Regions from separate parts of the Homo sapiens genome. Here region 2 is linked to region 1. The links are contacts of gene promoters, found by promoter capture Hi-C in blood cells and fetal thymus (Javierre and others, 2016). All regions are on one chromosome and are shown on one strand. Each heading gives the region's core, a stretch centred on a gene start or on the middle of the fragment in contact. The rest is flanking DNA. Distances are from core to core; before and after follow the strand shown.

Region 1 (7,826 bases), core at 3,624-6,123:
CCCAAATACTCCTCATTTGAGATATTCAGAAATCCTAAATAAACTGAATTTCATGATGGATAAAAATGGGAAAAACTTCAATAGCAGCTTCTGCTGAACTCATCCAAAGACTTTCCCAAATGTCCTGGTATATTAGTCAGCTTTCACTATGTTATGCTATGGTAACAAACAATCCCAACATCATAGGAGCTTTCACCAACATAGTTTTACGTCTCCCTCACATGTGGGGACCAGCTGCAGCTCTGCTCCAAGAGTCTTCTTCATTCTGGGGTCCAGAGCAGCCCCTATGTGGGACAGGCAACTTTCATGGCAGAGAAAAAGAGCAATGGTGGAACCAATGAGAGCTCACAAAGCTTCTGTCTCAGTGCAGCTGACAGCATTTCTACTTGCATTCCATCCACCAACATGAGTGACATTGACAGGTCTGGAGTCAAAGGTGTGGGATGTACACTTCTCACATGGGAATGGACTCAGCAATGAATATTTTAATTAATTAATACAGTTTACACCACCTGGTAAGTGTCCCTAGCAACAGAGACATAAGAGGTTGAGAGAAAAATCATTAGAAAGCAAAATGATCAAGGCTGCAGAAAGATATTCCTGATGAGTAAGATGCTCAGTGTTAAATACTTCGAGTTAAAACAAGCTGATTCTTGTAAGCAAGCATGCTGTAAACTTTTGTAAATGTAGCCCAGAGCCATAGTTACTCAGCATAAGTAGCAGTTTCACCTGCAGAGTCAGTGCTGGAAAGCTAGGATGTCTTACATCCTAGGTTAGGATGTCAACAGGGAATTCTGCAGAAGTGGATGATTGAGGATCCTCTGCCTCTCTCTAGTATTCATATGTGCTACCACTCTCCCTTACTACATGGGTTTTCATAGGTGAATCCCACTCTTCCCCCCTCCCATTTGTAAATCTACCCATTTAAGCAGGGTTCTTAGCCTAGGACCCACTGATTTCTAGAAGAGTCATAGATAAATGTTAATAGGGCCATGAAATCATATACACAAGTTGGGTATGCTTTTGTGTATATGGGGTGTTTTTTTTTTCATGAAGAGAAAGACTATACTTTTTATCAAATTCACAGTGACCTGGACCCAAGAAATGTTAAGAACCTTTATTTTAAGACCTAACTCAAAAGCCGTTTCAATACCATGAGGCTGTGATCCTCAAAACTCTATCCCCACTTGAATCACCCGTGGCCTGCCTGTGTTGTCTCACCTGTCTCAAAAAACCTCAACATTTTCAACCGTTTTTTAATGACTGAGGTATAACTTACATATGCTAGAGTGCACAGCTATGAATTGTATAGTCCAGTGAATTTTTACATATGTGTAGACCCATGTGCCCAGCACCTAAAGCGCATAGAAAACATTTGCAGCTAACCTACTGGCTTTTTTTTTTTTTTTTTTTTTGAGACAGAGTCTCGCTCTGTCGCCCAGGCTGGAGTGCGGTGGTGCAGTCTCAGCTCACTGCAACCTCTGCATCCCGGGTTTAAGCAATTCCCCTGCCTCAGCCTCCCGAGTAGCTGGGATTACAGGCAGCTGCCACCATGCCTGGCTAATTTTTTGTGTTTTTAATAGAGACAGGGTTTCACCATGTTGGCCAGGCTGGTCTTGAACTCCTGACCTCGTAATCCGCCCGCCTTGGCCTCCCAAAGTGCTGGGATTACAGGCGTGAGCCACCGTGCCTGGCCACCTGCTGGCTCTTTCATGTCCCCTCTCCACCAATGCCATCCTCAAAGGTCACTATTATGACTTCCAGCATCATAGATTAGTTTTGCCAGTTCTTTTTTAACAAAACTTTATTGGTAATAGTTGGTTTTTTGTTTTGTTGTATTGAGACAGAGTCTCACTCTGTCACCCAGGCTGGAGTGCAGTGATGCGATCTCGGCTCACTGCAACCTCTGCCTCCCAGGTTCAAGCGATTCTCCTGCCTCAGTCTCCCAAGTAGCTGGGATTACAGGTGCATGCCACTACGCCCAGCTATTTTTGTATTTTTTAGTAGAGACGAGGTTTTGCAATGTTAGCCAGGCTGTTCTCAAACTCCTGACATCAAGTGATCCACTTGCCTTGGCCTCCCAAAGTGCTGGGATTACAGCACCCGGCCTTATTGGTAATAGTTTTGACATATGTTTACAACAGCACACTGTTCAAGAGGAAATCTCATCTTTTCACAGCAAGCAGGTTGAATCACCCTGAGCCCACCTGGGGACCCACCCCAGGCCTGAGAGCTCCTCCTGGGATGGGGAGAAGTGATGAGAGGGGGAAATATGAAGATGAATGAGGTGGCTTGCCAGCAGCTCCTCACTTTTCTATTAAGAAAGAAAACAGACCAGGGACGGTGGCTCACTCCTATAATCCCAGCACTTTGGGAGGCCAAGGCAGCTGGATCACCTGAGGTCAGGAGTTCAAGGCCAGCCTGGCCAATGTGGCAAAACCTCGTCTCTACTAAAAATACAATAATTAGCCGGGGATGGTAGTGGGCCCCTGTAATCCCAGCTACTCGGGAGGCTGAGGCAGGAGAGTCGCTTGAACCCGGGAGGCGGAGGTTGCAGTGAGCTGAGATTGTACCACTGCACTCCAGCCTGGGTGACAGAGTGAGACTTCATGTCAAAAAAAAAAAAAAATTGAAAACAGCACGGGGTGGCAGGGGAGAAGAGGTGAAGGATGGCTGACAGCTAAGCTGGAGAGGGGCACCCAGGATGGGAGAAGGCAGAAGCTGCTGGGTGAATAAAACAGGCAGCCCCTCCCCAGCAACCCTAGCCTTGAACCCTGGGCGATGAGGTGGGGGTGGAGGGGCTGGGCCTCTTCCATGTCCTTTTGCAGGACTGCCTTCCCATAAGGAGAGGCTGGGCATCACAATCTGGCTGAGAATAAAATTAAGGAGTTTCGGGGAAATGCTGCTGTGAAGAAAGACTTGGGCTTGGAACTCCCACTCTGTCTTTTTGGGGGACAACTCCTCTTTGGCAGGGAGTAGGGCAGCTGCTTTTCTGGCTCCCAAAGCCCAAGGGTGAAGAAAAGTCTGCTGGGGAAGAAGAGAGTGGAGCTTCCTAAAAGAACTGAGACCTTTGCAAGAGTGATAGAGGATGCCCCTGGGGAGGGGGGAGGGGGAAATCAGCAGTTCATGGGGGAAGTTCAAACCCCAGAGCCTCCTTCCAAAGTCAGTCGGCTTCCTGGATTTGTTAAAATGGAATGGGGAGACACGGTAAGGTGGGAAGGGTGGGAGGGGTGGAAGTAGAGGAAGGAGGAAAGGGGACACTGGTGGAACTTAAATAAGATTTTAATTGTTTTTTGTTTTAATTTTTTATTCTAGCAAACAGCCCACTGAACATGGCACTAAACCTCTCTCCTTCCCAGGCAGGATTACGCCAAAGGGTAGGTGTGCTTTTCATTCATCCTCTCTTAGTAAGTGGTGCCTGTTCAGGGCTGGAGTTAAGTTTGAGCCCCTCTTTCCACACCGTGTCCCTTGATACAACAGCAAGACCTGGCCTGAATAGAGCTGAGAAACTCGTTTAAAACAGGCAGAAGGGGGCTGGGGCAAGGGGGACCCTGTGGGAGGAGAAAGAGAGAAGCACAGAGGGACCAGGAAGGCATGGGGGGGGGTGAGGGAGCAGCTGGTGTTTCTGTTCCTCCAAATATCTGGGCTTCCTGCTCCCCCAACCCTGGAGGGTGGGGTGAGGATGAAATTAGATACAAGGAACTCTGGGGCCCTCTGGCTGTTCAATCCAACCCTCCCATCCCCCAAACCACCAAAAACAAAAAGGAAAGAAAACCCACAGGGGCACAAGCACACCCCTAAAACTCAGAAAACTCCTTGGCACACTTCTCATTGATGGAGATCCGGAGCTCTTCCTCCTCGTAGTCGTCAAAGTTACTGGCATCCCCAGGGCCTGTGTACTTCGGGATGAAGGGAGCTTCCACCTTCTTCTCATAGATGGCGATCCAGCTGGTTGTGGCGAACCACTTGTGGTTCTTGATGTCGCCAACCCCGTTCCTGAGGTTTCCGAAGCGCTTGGTGAGGTCCACCTGCAGCAGGCTCCGCAGCAGATGCTTGAGGTCAGAGCTGAGTTTGGAGGGAAACCGCACCCTCCCAGAGACGATCTTCTCGTAGATCTGGATGGGCTGGTCGGCGTAGAAGGGTGGGAAGCCCACGGCCATCTCATAGATGAGCACCCCTAGGGCCCACCAGTCCACGGCCTTGTTGTAGCCTTTGCTCAGGATGATCTCGGGGGCCAGGTACTCTGGGGTCCCGCACAAGGTCCAAGTGCGGCCCTTCACGCGCTTGGCGAAACCGAAGTCCGTCACCTGCAGGTAGCCCTGCTGGTCGATGAGGAGATTCTCGGGCTTCAGGTCGCGGTGGATGAGGTCGAGCGAGTGTAGGTACTGGACGGCCAGGACGACCTGGGCGGCATAGAAACAGGCATGGGGCTCGCTAAACCTTCCGACGCGCTGTAGGCGGGAGAACATCTCCCCACCCGGCACGTACTCCATCACCAGGTACAGGTAGGAGTTGTCCTTAAAGGAGAACTGGAGCTTGACGAGGAACGGAAAGTCGATCGCCTGCAGGATGCGCTTCTCGTTCAGTATGTGCTCGACCTGCTTCATCTTCACCACCTTCTGCTTGTTGAGGATCTTCATGGCGTAGTGGCCGCCGGTCTCCTGGTGCCTCACCAGCATCACCCGCCCGAAGGAGCCCATGCCCAGCGTCCTGAGCCGTTCGAACTGATCCGAGCTGGCGGTGTTTTGAGCGGGGTTTCCCCATCTGTAGAGGAAATCTCCTCTGGCTTTGGCTAGGAACTCGTTCACGCTCTCCTCCTGCTCGGTGTCCTTCTTGGCGGGGGCGTTGCCCATGGCGGTGGCGGCGGCAGGGGCGGGGGTCTCGCGGCGGCGGCGGCGGCGGCGGCAGCGGCGGAGATGGCGCCCCCTGGGGCTGGCTGCGCTGGCTGCGGCGCTGCGACCCCCGCCCGGCCTCCGCTTATATTCCCAGCTACATGGGAGGCTGAGATGGGAGGATTTCTTGAGCCTGGGAGGTCAAGGCTTCAGTGAGCCAAGATCACGCCGCTGCACTCAACAATATGGATAAATCCAAAAGGCATTATGCAAGTGAGAGAAGCCAACTCTAAAGGAGACTTACTGTATGAATCCATTTCTATGACATTCCAGAAAAGGCAAAACTATAGTGTGAGAGAACAGATCAGTGATTGCCAGGGCTTGGGGTTAGGGGACGGTTGGACTATGAAGGGACAGCCTGAGGGAATGTGGGAAGTGGTGGGACATGTTTGTATCCTGATTGTGCTGGTGGTTACAATGTATTGGGTGGTGGTCTACATTTGTTTTAAAACTCATAGAACTGGCCGGGCGCAGTGGCTAAAGCCTGTAATCCCAACACTTTGGGAGGCCGAGGCGGGCGGATCACAAGGTCAGGAGTTCGAAACCAGCCTGACCACCATAGTGAAACCCCGTCTCTACTAAAAATACAAAAAAATTAGCCAGGCGTGGTGGCGCATGCCTGTAATCCCAGCTACTCGGGAGGCTGAGGCAGGAGAATTGCTTGAACCTGGGAGGCAGAGGTTGCAGTGAGCAGAGATCGTGCCACTGCACACCAGCCTGGGCAATAAGAGTGAAACTCCATCTCAAAAACAAACAAACAAACAAACAAACACCTCAAAGAACTGTATACTTCCCCCCAAAATTCAGTTTTACTGCATGTAATGTTTTATTTTAACACATACATATGATTTCCTTTCTTCTGTTTGCTTTGGGTTTAATTGCTCTTATTTCCTAAGGTGGGAACTAAGGTCACTGATTTGAAATCTTTCTTCTATTACAATCACTTAGTGCTATAAATTTCCTCCTAAGTATTATTTTTTGCAGCATCCCACAAATTTTGGTATGTTGTATTTTCCTTTTCATCCAGCTCAAAATATTTTCTAAGCTCCCTTTTCATCTTCTTTGACAGATAAGCTATTTAAAAGTATATTATTTCGTTTCCAAATACTTGGGGATTTTTCAAGAATTTTCCTATTGATTTCTGATTTAATTCCATTGTTAGAAAACATACTCTGTGTGACCTAAAATGTTTTACACTTCTTGGGGCTCATTTTATGGCCCAGAATATGATCTATCTTGGTAGATGGCCCATATGCACTTGAGAAGAATGTATATTCTGGTGTATTCTGCTGTTTGAGGATACAGTGTTCTACAAATGTCACTTAGGTCAAGTTGGCTAGTAGTAGTGTTCAGGTCTTCTATATTCTTATTGACTTTCTGTTTACTTATTCTATCAATTATTAAAAACATGCCACAGGAGTTTATGAGAAGTCAAAGTACATAGATGATGGGCCTTCCATCACTCCCCCAGGCCACCATGTCAGCCGCCCCACACACCCTCCAGAAGACTGCCAGCACTCAGCCATCACAGGGTGGGTTCTGAGCTGCTCTCCCCAGTCAATTCTGTACAAAGATTCTGTCCTACATCATAAACACTGAGCTACAGGAATACCCATTTATCCTCCTATTTTCTCTCCATCTTGCCCTTTAAGTTTGACAGCTAATTCTGCCTACCCACCCTGGCTACACCGCCTGTAGCTAGTGCAAGTAAACAACACACTTTCACCTAGCCCTGCAGGCTGAAACCAAGCAAATTGGAGAGGAATCCCTGATTACTTGACTCCAAGTAGAAGGTTTCTATTGTGACTGTGAATTCTTGCCGCTCAGTTCAGCAGATGTTGGTCAAGCAGGTGTCTATTGTGTGCAAGGCCTGGTTCCGAGTTTACGGTTTAATCTGGGGCCAGTACTTGGGTACTGACTGTATATTCAGAGACGGTCAGGTTAGAGAGGAAGAAGAGGAAAGGAGAAAAATCTACTGTTGATCATCTGAACTTCCACAAAAGGGAAACCCACATTCCCTCAAGAACATAGCAGGGGGGTCAATTGCCCCTTGTGCTTTGGGTCAAGGCAAATCCCTGGCAGATGGAAATTCCACGTCTCCCCCATAATCTCAGTGATTTCCTCTTCATTTTCATCACAGTAGATCTGCTAAAATTCTGCCCATTTCTGACTTACCTCCAGATTATTCAGTAGAAATTTATACACAAAGAGCAATTAGTGGGAAGCCATTCTCTTGGACCGACGCCTTGGAAGTGGGACAGTTTGTTTAGAAGCAGGCTGTGCCATTCCATGACAAATTCTTGTGGCATTAATCTCTGAAGTTCAATTAGGAAGACACAGGGGTCTAGAGGGAACATATGCTGCACACTAGAAATGTCCCCATGCTTCGTTTACAGGTCAGAACATCAAGTATTTATCCCAGAACAAGCTGCAGAATAATTACATTTGTTATTTCTCTCCACTTTCCGTTCTGCTTTTCTCCATGGCCTTGGGGAGCAAGGGAGTCCTTAGCATGCCAAGGAAACAGGAATCCTTTTGCATTCAGATAAACCCTTTCAGAAGGAAAAGATTTGTGTAGCAAGATACAATACCTCTGCATGATCTGCTTGGAGCTTGCCTAGGGGGCCAAATGAAGAGGTGAAAGCCAACTCTGCTTTCCTGTATGCCCAATGAAAGGCAATCAAGACCATTCTTCTCCCAAAAAACTGCTCACTGGCAGTCATGCCAGCTGATTCTCCTCTTTACTGTTTATATAGCAGTTTCCAAATGGCTAATTGCATAAGGCTTGGATCATTCAATTCTAACTTCCTCTCTATCTCCAAAATATTGATGGGAGCAAAGAAAAGAACAAACTCCACCAGGATTCAAATAAGAAATAAACTACAAATCTCTATCACTCAGGGAATTATTTACATAACACTGCATGTTCTGGTC
Region 2 (7,826 bases), core at 2,622-5,121, 290 kb before region 1:
GGAGCGCTTATGCACGATTGCTTGGTTTGCAAATTTGTTCAGCCACTGTGGAAAACAGTGAGAAATCTTGGAGATTTCTCAAAGAACTGAAAATAGAATTATCATTCAACCCAGCAATCCCATTACTGGATATATACCCAAAGGAAAATAAATTGTTTTATCAGAAAGACACCTGCACTCACACGTTCATTGCAGCGCTATTCATAATAGCAAAGACAAGGAATCAACCTAGGTGACCATCAATGATGGATTGGATGAAGAAAATGTGGTATATATACACCATGGAATATTATGCAGCCATAAGAAAGAACAAAATCATGTTCTGTAGCATAATGGATGCACCTGGAGGCCGTTATCCTAAGCAAATTAACACAGAAGCAACCAAATACCGCGTGTTCTCACTTATAAGTGTGAGCTAACCATTGGGTACACATGGACATAAAATTGGGAACAGTAGATACTGGGAGCTCCAAAGGGGACAGGGAAGGAGGGAGGTAAGGGTTGAAAAACTACCTGTCAGGTACTGTGTTCACTACTTGGGTGATGGGTTCAATTGAAGCCCAATCCTCAACATCATGCAATATATCCAGGTAACAAACCTGCATGTGTAACCCCTGAATCTAAAATCTGAAAAAAAGATTCTCTTTTATGATCCAGGTATTTTTAGAATAGAATAAGAGACTGGACGGTAGCATCCTATAAAAACTGGTTAATATAAGTTGGCATAACCCAAGCTTGCATTTAATCTTTGCACATAGCTTTTCCAGTTAGTCAAATTTGAACTGTAAATAAGAGAAAAATACCAACTTGTCTTAGGTGGTTCAGGCTGTCATAACAAAGTGTCAAAAACTGGGTGGTTCATAAACAAAAACAGTTTATTTCTCATAGTTCTGGAGGCTAAGAGTCCAAGATCAGGTGCCAGCATGATCAGGTTCTGGAGAGGGCTCTCTTCCAGCTTACAGATGGCAAACTTCTTCTAGTACCCTCATGTGACAGAAAGAGGGAGAAAGAGCTTTCTGGGATCTCCTTTATAAGAGCCCGAATCCCACCCTATGACCTAATCACCTCCTAATACCATCATCTTGGGGTTAGGATTTTGATATGAATTTTGAGGGGGATACATTCAGTACCTTGGATAGTCCTTTGTAGCCCAGTCAGTGTGCTATAAGAAACACATCCTGTGTTGAAACCTAGTATATACGTAGAGATATAAATAATACATATAACAGAAATAAAGGTTTCATGAAACAGTACTTAGCCATACCACATGAAATGTCCTCTGTTATTTTCTGTTGTGTTCCCTCCCAACTCCAACTTCCACCATACACTGGTCATGAGCCACTGAATTGACTTTACTCCCTACTGAAGGGCAGAGACCTGCAATTTATTTAGAAAGCATGAGTGCAATCTGCCATCCCCCTGGCACTGCCTATGATGTGTGTCAGCCTAGAGGTGTGCATTTACTGAGGAGCTGACAGGACTCCACATATAGTGCTCTGTCCACTCCTATGAAACCACAGAAAGTTGTGAGTTTAAAACCCCCTAAAGACTCCCCTTGCAAAGTTTTATCAAGAAGGCATAGTAAAACTTGGAGAGTAGACATATGATAGAACTTTGAGTTGGACAAAAGTGACTCAGATGGCTGCCTTGTCTGTCATAAAACATATGTAAGCTTCAATCATCAAACATGGCCTTTAACCTGGGAAATGTCTGTATTTTTTCCTATAGTGCTCACCCTAAAGTTCACACTAATTTATTTTAGTAAGAACCTAAATACTGTAAGGAAAACAATCTCTGACTTTAAAAATATGTGAAGAATAAAGAATAATTTGACGGTGTAGTTTTTTTCTTCCTGAAATTCCTTCAGACATTAAGCCTGCTCATTTTCATTGGCCACTGAAGCACAAAATTGAAGGGGCTCAAAATAGGGAACCCTTGGCTATGCAGAACCTTTGGGCAGGCTGTTTTACTTCTAGAAAACATTTCCTGATTGCTTGCTCCTTTAACTGCCAGCAATTATTATGGCCAAGTTTTGTATAGAAAATTTTCCCAGCATTGTCTCATCTGTCCCTGATTCTTTAAAAGATTATACAGAACAGAGTGTGTCTTTTATGCTACTGTAAAGTGATAGATTTAGTATTCATTCAGGAATGCAAGGCTCTTTGCCCCTAAACCAAATGGCCCTACTTTGCTGTCTTCTAAAATCTTGTCTGCTTTTTCTTGATAATTTTTTTTTTGGCCCTACTTCTGTGGCTCTCAGCAGTGAGCCCCTTCACTCATTGTTGGCTATTGAAAGTCCATTGTGATTTTGGGAACCAGATAACCATACTGTCTGAAATGTGTTTGCCAGATAGAGTCATATTATCCATTGAAACTGAAATTTTAAAAAAGGATCAAAAGTAGTATTTGAGGGAGGTCTTCAAGAGTTCTACTGGTAAAGCAAGCAAGCTTTAGTTCTTTCTTGTTCGCTTCATTCATTAGCCAATAGCATGTTTTCTTCTGCCCTGTTTTTGGGTTGTTCAGATAAAGTGATACCTTTTCAGGCTGTGATAGGCATGCTTTCTTTTTTCTTTCTTTTTGTAACATATTGATAATGTGTTTACTATATTATGGTCTAAAGCAGGATTTCATAGACTTTTTCATTTAAGTTAAACATAGTGGCAATTGATGAGTATTTTGGTAACAGCTTTATTTGCAATGCTTTATGCCTTTAAAGGTTATAGATTACTGCATTTCTCTTTTCCTTGGAGAAACTGCATAGCAAAGTTCCCCAGATTTTCCTGATTTCCATCTTCCATTGGAAAACAAGTTCAATATCCACAATAAAACAAGGAAGCTGAATACTGAAAAATTAACTTATTTTTAAGGAGTGATGTGAACCAGACTGTTCTGAGGTTTACGACTGCATTGTATGGGAACAAAAAGAAGCAACGGTGTCATTGCTGTGGCAAGCTGTATTTAAATGATGCCCTTTTATTTTTTTCAAGATGTGTTGTTCAGACTCAGTTGTGAAGATTATGGAAACTGAAACAAATGGGAAATCAGTCTCTCCTGCTAAGGGTTAAGAGAGAAACACGACTTTTGTTTACATTTGTTTATAGGAAACAGAATGGAAATTCAGCTTTTAAGATGTCTGTACAGTTGGGCTTCATTATTTAGTTTAGCAGTTTCTCAGAAACTCCCTCTCCTACATGACAATTTATAATGCAAACATGATGCATCATTTCATTTTGTGTAAACTTTATAGAAGGAATAGTCTTTTCCACATATGTCAAAAGACTTCTGGAAGCATTTTAGAACTGAATGCTAAGTATCCTACACATGTGCCTGGAAGCTTTAGAAATGATCAGCAGCAGCACTTTCTGACCTTACATTTTTGTTTGTTTCTTCATTTGTCCGCCTCCTTACTGAAAGGTAAAGTTTCACAAGAGCAGGAACTTTGTTCTGTTTACTACACTGTCTCCAGCACCTAGAACAGTGTCCAGCACAAAGACAGCCTGTATTATTATCATTGTTGAATGAACTCATTCTTAAGCTATAAAAACAAATTCTTAAGCTGTAACCGTTTTTCCCTTGACTTCTGAGCTCCCCCTTCCTTTACAAAATTTCAGTAGCCTAGCATCTAGCCTTGCCACTGCTTCAAGTTCCTTCCCCGAGGAGCAGCCTTGTTTGTTGCCAGATTACAGTCTTTCTTCTGTCTCTTGCTTTTTGCACCTTTAAAAGTCTAGACCAATTTAATAACCCCACGCCCCATGGTCTCTTTGCTACTCAGCTGATTTTTTGATCCCAACTCTTACCTCTTTGAACAAACTCTATACTTGCAGCTGTGCAGTCACCTTTTAAAAATTCAGTCCACCTCCCTTCCCAAATACTGTTTTTATCAAACACACCCTCATTTTTTTTTTAACCCACCTTTGAAATTTTAGCACTCTTTTTACTTTGGTCATCTCTGTCTCTGTGCAGCTACCAATTTTTTAAAAATGTTCTCTTCTATTCTCACTTCTGTCTCCAGATACGTCTCTTACCTGGGCTGGTGTAGAAACTTCCCAAATAACTTCCATACCTCCCTATCTACCCGCTTTAAGCAATTGTAATACTGTCTCTTACCTGGGCTGGTGTAGAAACTTCCCAAATAACTTCCATACCTCCCTATCTACCCGCTTTAAGCAATTGTAATACCTGCTGCTAGAGAATGATTTTGTCACTGCCGTGGCAGGAAATCCTTAGATCCTTTACCGTGTCTGAAATCTGAAATGCTTTGGTTTGGGTACATTCTGGCCCTAGTTGACTGTTGATCATTGTCATCATCATTGTTGTCATTGTCATAGCTGTATAACAGTGATAGCAGCTACCATTTCTTAAACTCTTACTTTATACCAGGCATAACACGTATGAAGCATGACATCATGAAGCTTGTTAGTGCATTTTGGAGCTGTATAATGTGATAATGGGTAGGGTGGCTGTGGGTGGAATAAGATAGGGCTGGAGAGGTGTATCGGGCCAGACCATCGACATCTTGTCAGCTGTGCTAAGGAGTTTGAACATTTCTTCTACAGGCAATGAGGCAACAACTAGAAGAGTTTGATGGAGAAGTGATGAGGTCATATTTTGTTTCATAATGGCAACATGAGCAATAGTTTAGGGGATGAATTAGAAGGGTAAGAGACTGGAGATAGGGAGACTAATCACAGAAGAGATGAAAAGGACCTGAAGTAATGTAGTGTGGATAGGGAAGAGTGAGTAGATTTGATATTCAAGAGGGAGAATTTCTAGGACTTGATGACCACCTGGATATGAGTTTTGGGGAATGGTAGTAGTAGATGATTCTCTGGCTTTTGGCTTGAGTGACTGGAGAGATTGGGGAATGATGCTCAACTGAGAGAGAATACCAGGTAGAGGCATCGTACATATGGTAGCAGAGGCAGGAGGGCTGTGATGATGAGTCCTATTTTGGACATGCATTTGAGATACCTGGGGGCTATCCAGGTAGGATGTGGCTGTAAGATCAATCCATGATGGAGACACTGGCTGTGTTGTGGTCATATCATCTGGGCTGTGGGAGAGCATGAGATCGAATGAGATTGAGATACAGGACATGAAGGTGGAGAGTCTAAAGAGAAGCTGTGTGTAAGTGTGGAAGAGGCCATGATGAAGACACAGTATTATGAGCTCTTGCCAGCAATTAAAACCATGAGACTAAATGAAATGTTCCTGAAATTGTGTAAGAAGAAGACAGAAGATCACTTGTTGATCTTCACTTGCAATTTCATTTCCCTGTAGCGTGGCTCATTCCGTTGTTTTCTTTTCTCTGTTTAAGGAAATGGCATCAGATTTTCATGATAGCATGTACAGCCTACTGTTTCGGAAGACCTCTCTGAGCCCACTGATCCCCACTCTGCCTCCCTAGAAGTGATTTCTCAGGCACACATTCTCTTTGGTCCTCTTGCTCCTGTGACTCTTTGGGAACTTTCCCTAGAGGCTTCTGTTTCATTTGTTCTCTGCTTATCTCTCCAAGCAGATTCGAGTCCTGACAGCAGGGATCATATCTTTGCCTGCTTTGTCTCCCCCAACCAAAACCTAACAGCTCTTTCTTTATTTTTTATTTTTATTTTTTGAGATGGAGTCTCCCTCTGTCACCCAGGCTGGAGTGCAGTGGTGCGATTTTGGCTCACTGCAACTTCACCTCCCGGGTTCAAGCGATTTTCTGGCCTCAGCCTTCTGAGTAGCTGGGATTACAGGTGCCTGCCTCCGCGCCAGGCTAATTTTTGTATTTTTAGTAGAGTCGGGGTTTCATCATGCTGGCCATGGTTGGCCAGGCTGGTCTCGAACTCCTGACCTCAAGTGTTCCGCCCGCCTCGGCCTCCCAGAGTGCTGGGATTACAGGTGTGAGCCACCGCACCCGGCCCTTAACAGCTCTTTCTATACTCTAGCTGCTCCTGCTACTTTTTTTTTCCCTTTTTCCTCTTTGGAGGCTCATTTGCTGACCATATTGTTGTTATTTTTATTTCATTTATTATAATTATTAATTAATTTTATTTATTACCATGTATGTATTTATTTATTATTAGTATATCATATAATATATAATAGTTGTAGATATGTTTGGGGTACTTGTGATATTTTGATACCTGTATGCACTGTGTAATGATCAAATCAGGGTAATGAGGATATCACCTCAAACATTTTTCATTGTGTTGGGAACATTATAATTCTTCTAGCTATTTGAAATATACAATAAATTATCATTAACTATAATTTCCCTACTGTACTATAAAATACTAGAACTTTTCCCATCTATCTGTGTTTTTGTATCCTTAACCAATTTCTCTTCATCCCCTCGTCTCCCCTACCCTTCACAGCCTCTCATAACTATCATTTTATTCTCTACCTCCATGAAATCCACATTTTTAGCTCCCACATACGAGTGAGAACATGGAATATTTGTCTTTCTGTGCCTAGCTTATTTCAGGTAACATAATGACTTCCGGTTTCCACCATGTTGCTACAAATGACAGGATCTCGTTCTTTTCTGTAGCTGAATAATATTCCTCTGTGTGTGTGTGTGTGTGTGAGAGAGAGAGAGAGAGAGGGAGAGAGAGAGAGAGACGTTTTCTTTGTGCATTCATCCACTGATGGACACTTACATTGATTCTATGTGTTGACTATTGTGAATAAATGCTGTAGTAAACAGGGGAGTGCAGATATCTCTTTGATATACTGATTTTCTTTCTTTTGGATATATACCTAACAGTGGGATTGCTGGATCAAATGGTAGTCCTATTTTTTTTTTCTTTTGAGGAACTTACATCGTTTTCCGTAATGGCTGTACATCTTTACATTCCCACCAATAGTATACAAATATTGCCCTTTCTCTACATCCTCTCCAGCATTTGTTACTTTTTGATTTTTTTTGGTAATAGCCATTCTTACTGGGGTGAGATGTTATCCCGTTGTGGTTTTGATTTGCATCTCCCTGATGATTAGTGATGTTGAGCATTTTTTCATATACCTGTTAGCCATTTGTATGTCTTCTTTTGAGAAATGTCTATTCAGGTCTTTTGCCCATTTTTTAATTGAAGTATTTGGTTTTTTTTTTTTTTTTTTTTTTGCTATTGAGTTGTTTGAGTTTCTTATGTATTCTGGTTATTAATCCCTTGTCAAATGGATAAATGGATAGTTTGCAAATATTTTCTCCCATTCTTTAGGTTGTCTCTTCACTTTGTTGATTGTTTCCTTTGCTGTGCAGAAGCTTTTCAGCTTGATGCAATCTCATTTGTCTATTAATATTTTGTTTTTGTTGCCTGTGCTTTTGGGTCTTACCCAAAAAATTATTGCCCAGACAAATATCTTATAAGATTTTCCCAAAATTTTTTTCAGTAGTTTCATAGTTTTAGGCCTTACATTTAAGTCTTTAATGCATTTTGAGTTGATTTTTGTATATGGTAAAAGATAGGTATCTAGTTTTATTCTTCTGCATATGGATATCCAGTTTTCCCAGCACTATTTATTAAAGAAACTGTCCTTTCCCCAGTGTATGTTCTTGGTGCCTTTGTTGAAAATGGGTTGGCTGCAAGTGTGTGGATTGATTTCTGAGTTCCGTAGGTCTATGTGTCTGTGTTTTTTTTGGGTTTTTTTTTTTTTGTTTTTTGTTTTAGCCAGTACCATGCTGTTTTGATTACTCTAGCTTTGTAGTATAATTTGAGATTAGGTAGTGTGATGCCTTCAGCTTGGTTCTTTTTGCTCAACATTTCTTTAGCTATTTTCAGTCTTTTGTGGTTTTATACAGATTTTAGGATTGTTTTTTCTATTTCTGTGAAGAATGTAAT

Evidence for each region. Contacts are between HindIII fragments. The CHiCAGO score rates a contact against its expected background, and 5 or more counts as called.
Region 2: a contact is called between a fragment that was not itself captured here and the fragment with the promoter of PRKACG in region 1, in 7 of 17 cell types (erythroblasts, megakaryocytes, monocytes and 4 more). The highest score is 16.4, in erythroblasts.

What each region holds. Positions count from the first base shown.
Region 1 is chr9:69,009,240-69,017,065 of GRCh38, forward strand. PRKACG (protein kinase cAMP-activated catalytic subunit gamma) reads right to left here and starts at 4,874. Exons shown (of 1, transcript NM_002732.4): 1 at 3,265-4,874. The coding sequence starts at 4,853. The coding sequence ends at 3,798. The HindIII fragment of the contact is 8,295 bases long and covers 352-7,826 here.
Region 2 is chr9:68,716,610-68,724,435 of GRCh38, forward strand. The region is part of intron 1 of PIP5K1B (phosphatidylinositol-4-phosphate 5-kinase type 1 beta); the gene reads left to right. Among named protein-coding and RNA genes, the nearest start is that of PIP5K1B, 15 kb to the left of the region's middle. The HindIII fragment of the contact is 1,078 bases long and covers 3,333-4,410 here.